Linked DNA regions of Homo sapiens: region 1 is linked to region 2. Evidence: promoter capture Hi-C in human tissues and cell types (Jung and others, 2019). All regions are on one chromosome and are shown on one strand. Each heading gives the region's core, a stretch centred on a gene start or on the middle of the fragment in contact. The rest is flanking DNA. Distances are from core to core; before and after follow the strand shown.

Region 1 (2,700 bases), core at 134-2,633, 1.1 Mb before region 2:
TTGAAGGCAGAAGAACTTGCCACATGAAGTGATTTTAGCTCTGATCCTTTCAGAGTTTGAATTCAAGGGAGTGGGATTTTCCAGCCACTAAAGGAATTGATGTTTCTGTGGAACACAAGCTTCCTAATAACAGGTGATGACTTAATACAGGGAAGGAAGAAGCTCACAGGGGCCTTTCTTCTAAGGAATCCTTTTATGTTTACAAGGAGTTTATAAGATAGATATATATTTCATGTATTTTAAAGTGTTTATCCACAGATAATGTCCTTAAATCACCTAAGGGTTTATCTCACACATCTTTCTCTGTCTTGCCTCAAATTACTCATTTCCAATACTGGCCTCTCTGTTAATTAAATGGTATGTCTATGGGGGCATTTCCACTTGAATGATAATTAATGTGTTTTTTCCCAATCCAGCTGCCCATGAACTCTAGTAGATAAATTGTTTTGTGTATAGCACATATTCAAGGCTGGGCTTGGATAATGATGTCCTGCTCAAATTAATAAAAAAAAAAGAAAAAGAAACATTGTCCAACACACAAGAACTCTTCTTTACCTTTTTACAATCTGGGTATGTTGGGAGAGGAAGAAAAATATTCATAAATAAGAGCACCAAAATACCACAGTAACCATGGTGGAAGCTACATTGACCTTTTGGCTGATTTTCATAATCATTTTATATCCTTGTCTGTGTCTCCTAGTGGTTTATAAGCATATGGTTTCTTAGACATGTATAAATTAAGATTAGTTTATTTTAATATTTTTGGTTCCAGAAATATGCTAAACTTGTGACAAATTTACTTCGTAATGCACCAAATCTTCTTTTCGATTTTATATATGCTTCTAATGCTTTTTAAATGAGAGGCAGAATGTGGTATAGTGGTTAAAGGCTTAGGATCTGATATGAGATCCACATTCAAATCTTGGCTTCACCATTTGGCAACTATGAGACCTTAGGGGGTTTCTTAACTTCTTTGTACCTGACTTTTCTCATCTATAAAGTGAGAATAATAATTAATCATCACATAGGGCTATTGTGAGGATTAAGGGCATTATTTTTATAAAACAAATAGAACAGTGCCTGGAGGATACTACTAACTACATGAACTATTAATCAGTATTTTCAAAAGGAAATATTATAACAAAGCGGATTTACTGGAAAAAATGCCAAAACATGTCTTGTTTTATACCACACTCTCGATTGACAGAAGTCTCAGAAAGTGAAATTTTAGCTCCAGAATACTATGATTTCAGCAGATGAATAGTGTGGGCATCAAATGTATAGTTTTAATGAATGTGAACCTCAAAGAGAGGAGCTGTAAATCTAAATGGCAATACAGGGGAGAATTGCCCATCTCAACAGGTGAGCATCTAAAGGTGAGCTTCATCCTACTATAAAGGGAGAGGAGTGGCTTTGGGGCAAAATTCCCATCAGAGTACCTTGCTTAAATAAACCCTATTATTTCATTTTCTCAGTTCAGACTTGGCCTCCCCTTACCCAGAGCAAAAATGACATAAAAATTATATATCTAGGAAAACCAAAATTTAAAAATCGTTGGCCTTACAATGCCTACTCCTGATTCAGAATGGTAAGATTAGGGAAAGTGTCATTGAAACTGGGTTATTCCATCTGCTGATGCCAAGTATGTTTAGAGAGCTTTAACCTGGCTTGATTATTGATAATGGGACCTGAGCGGGGGAGCTTCCAAACCAAAACGTTAGCATTGTTGCATAATAAATATCCAGAAAGGAAGTTGAGATCATCACAGTTAGGAAAAGCTTGCTGATGTAAGCTTTAGAGAGAAACAGGTCAACTGGAATTTCTTTTGGAAAGAATTGTCTTCAGAGCTTTAGAAATGCTATTAGATGGTCATTTTTTTCAATGCTCCCAAATTTGCTTAAAGAAATTAGGAACTCACAGATTGACCTAGCTAATGTTTATGAAACACTTCTGAGTGCTGAGCCCTGTGTTATACACCTTATATGTTATTTTGTGTAATCCTTTTGTAATCTTAATTAATACTTTCCACTTTAAAGCTGAGGAAGCTGAGTTTCAGACACATGGCTGATAAATAAGTAAAGCTGGGATTCAAACCCAGGTTGTCCAATTGAAGTCCATGTGCTGTTAGTCTTAAGCACTCTATTCTCTTCATGAGCTCACATAAAGTGTAAAAATGAGAGTTGATAGGTATCTATACAGCTTCATCATCAATTCTAAGACCTAAGAAATAATTATGCTGTGAGATTTCCATAGATATTAATAATAATGCCAACAATTGGACTAAACTTTACAACACTGGGAAATCATAGTTTCTTCTCACAATTACTAAGATCAATTTTCTTCTGTTGAAGAAGTGGGCAAATTGCACAGATAAAGCTAGTCCTGAATGGAATTGTTCCAGTAATATTAAGGCTCAATAGTAGCACCTGGAGAAATAGCACAGCAAAGCTTCTGCTGACGCTGGGCACTGCACTGACCTGATATTTGAAACTGTGAGCTTCACAGTCTGCTTAATAATTAAAGCAATTTATCTTCAGGTGAATCTAGGCCATTTTGTTATTTCAACATGAAATTCTTGGGGAATAGAGATGCCTATAGAGAATCTCTGTTGTGTAAACACTAATATGGAAAGTAAGTAGGTAACTCTTTGAAATGCTGTCAACTATACGGCCACTAGAACTTTGGCCACTATCGGAACTA
Region 2 (2,709 bases), core at 68-2,567:
AGAAAGGTGAAGGCCAGGAGACTCAGCCAGTCAAGTCCTTCCAACTTCTGCCTGCTTTTATTCTAGCCATGCTGGCAGCTGATGAGATGGTGCCCACCCAGACTGAGGGCTGGTCCGCCTCTCCCAGTCCACTGTTAATCTCCTTGGCAACACCCTCACAGACACACCCAGGAACAATACTTTGCATTCGTTCATATCAATCGAGCTGACAATATTATCCATCACAGTGCCTCAGTCTCCCCAGTATTCAGGGGAGGGCAGAGATGTTGTCTTTTTGTCCTTCTGTTCCATGGCGTGCCCAGATCCTGTGATGGCAGGTGCTCACTATATCTATGGAACTGAAAGGCCAGACCCTGGGGAGAGGACAGAGCAGGTTTGGGAGCCAACTGTGAAACCTTGGCAGTGGGAGTCAGGAAGAGCAACCTAGGTCTTTGCATCCTCATGCAACAAGGATGGAGGCCACCTCAAGTACACATTATGTGCTCAGCAAAGACGAGATTTAAAAGTATAAAACATTCACATTTGAGCAACTTAGGTCATTAAGAATTTGGCCTCTTTATAATGATAGCAGTGTCCACAGGAAGAGAGTGAGTGGGACATGAAATTTCTGGTTCTGCATGCAGACTTCTACATTTCTACCAGCTAATTATTATTATCATTAAATTATTAAGCAAAGAGCTTACTCGCAAAGGTCAACTTTTTATAAAGCATAAGTCATCCTTGGAAGTGTCGTTTGGTCATTCTAGTAATTCTTGCTTTTAATTCTTTAACAACTATGGGTAGAACTGCAGTGTACCATTATTCCACCTTTGTTTGCACTGTCAAAATACCCAAGACGTTGCCAAGGACGACTGAATTCTTAGGCTTGGCCGCAGCCACCCACAGGGCAGGTGCTCACTTCCTCCTCCGGGGTAGAAGAGATCATGGGTCCCTTTCCAGTCCAGGCTGGAATGGAGAAGTCGTCCCTGACCACAGTGCGCCAGGCAGAGGCCAAGGTTCTAAACTGATAGAACCCACCCACCAGGGCGGTGCCAAGTCCCAGTAAGGGCCGCATCTCCCCAGCTTGGCTGATGAAGAGGCGGGGACCGAACCCTCCAGTGCAGGAGCCTGTCTGGTGCCTGGCTCTCCCACCGATCCGCACGTACCTCTTCCTCGCGGGTCCTACCCCACGCAGGTATCTAGCGCCCAGCCCTGTTCATTTCCCACACCTGGCCCGCTCCGCCCCGGGGCCGAGGAGACGCACGTCTGATTGGCCGAGGGCGGCGGGGGCGGGGCCGGGGCGCCCCCAGAGGCCTAGACAGAGGTGCGGGCGGGGCAGGCCGCGCTCAGCAGGCGGGGCGGGAGCCGCGTGCGCCCGAGGACCCGGCCGGAAGGCTTGCGCCAGCTCAGGATGAGGACAGGCTGGGCGACCCCTCGCCGCCCGGCGGGGCTCCTCATGCTGCTCTTCTGGTTCTTCGATCTCGCGGAGCCCTCTGGCCGCGCAGGTAACCGCGGGCACGCCAGCCCCGCAGTCCGCTGGGTGCCTCGACGCCACAGCTCTGCTGCCTTCCAGCCTGGGGCAGGGCTGCGCCCCTGGGGCAGGTCACGGCTGCTTTGCTGTTGGGGCGGGGGGGCTCTGGAGCCGGAAGAGTGAGTCGCAGGGGAGGTCTGGCAGAGGAAGCGCCCCAGTGCCCTCGGGGGCCCGGAGGAGGGCGCGGTGGATGTGGGAGGACAGGGCCCTTCTGGTGCAGAGGGGACGCGGTGCACCGTAGAGTAGGCGCACGGAGGCTTTTTTGGCCGGGTGCGCTGCTCCATCGTCGCCTCTCTTATATAATGTTGCTGGAGTATGGGGTTCCCCATCTGCCCTCTTGCGTCCCGTCCCTCCCGTTCTCGCTTTTCCTTCGGCCCTTGGTCACCTTGGCCACAGGGCCAAGAGGAGCCTCCACCCACAGCGCCAAGGATTCCCCACGATTCCCGGATTTCACTGCGCCTACGGTGCGCATCAGGAAGGAAGTCAGGTTAAATAAACCATCTCCTCCGAAAGTGACCAAGACCAAGAGTCAGCTATGATGCCCTCACCCACCGCCTAGAGCAACAAACCTTTCTTCTCATTGGTTTATCAGCTCCAAATGACCCCGCTCCCCCAAGGCTGACAGCCTCACGGTGAAGGGCAGGTCGCCTGCTTGGGGACCTGCTGCCTCTCACTGCGGAAGCAGGACCAGAAACAGACAGCCTTCATTGATGTTCAGGGTAGTGCCAGCCCCACCACACCACACCCCTTGGCAGCAACCGGTTGCTTTTACTTTCTCTTTTTGCCTGGGCGAGGGGTGTGCAGAGAACTTTGTTTCTTGGTTGGACTGCATCATGGGCACTCAATGGGCCACCCTCCACCGGCCACTTCTGTTATCGTGCCTGTATGAGGAAGGAAAAGATTGTCCAGGCAGTTTGAAAAACATTAAATTGTTGGTGGCTCTTATTTTCTTTGCAGCTAAGCTAAGTTACCATCTGGTTTAGACTTCCTTCGGAGAGCGATGGGAAGAGATTTCTCAGAGTGTGAATGGCATCATCCTATCTACAGCAAGGACCTGGAAATGAACCCTGCTCTGAGTCACACTTCTCTATTCTCCTTTGACCCTGTGTGCTAGGAACTACCAAAAGAATCCTTTAAAATAAGATCCTTTATTGCCTTGATAATTTATTCTGCCTGCCCCACAATCCAAGGTGGAAAAG

The links. The method cuts DNA at HindIII sites, captures the fragments that hold promoters and counts their contacts. A contact is called where the count stands out against the background at its distance.
Region 1: a fragment that was not itself captured here is called in contact with the fragment with the promoter of LY75 in region 2 in 1 of the 25 tissues and cell types used here (dorsolateral prefrontal cortex).

Annotation. Positions count from the first base shown.
Region 1 is chr2:160,963,205-160,965,904 of GRCh38, reverse strand. No RefSeq gene overlaps it. Among named protein-coding and RNA genes, the nearest start is that of TANK-AS1, 200 kb to the left of the region's middle. The HindIII fragment of the contact is 4,944 bases long and covers 1-2,700 here.
Region 2 is chr2:159,903,364-159,906,072 of GRCh38, reverse strand. LY75 (lymphocyte antigen 75) reads left to right here and starts at 1,317. Exons shown (of 35, transcript NM_002349.4): 1 at 1,317-1,484. The coding sequence starts at 1,391. LY75-CD302 (LY75-CD302 readthrough) reads left to right here and starts at 1,317. Exons shown (of 38, transcript NM_001198760.1): 1 at 1,317-1,484. The coding sequence starts at 1,391. RefSeq lists silencers at 1,115-1,356, 1,126-1,585 and enhancers at 1,766-1,845, 1,986-2,035, 2,256-2,305, 2,356-2,405. The HindIII fragment of the contact is 14,335 bases long and covers 1-2,709 here.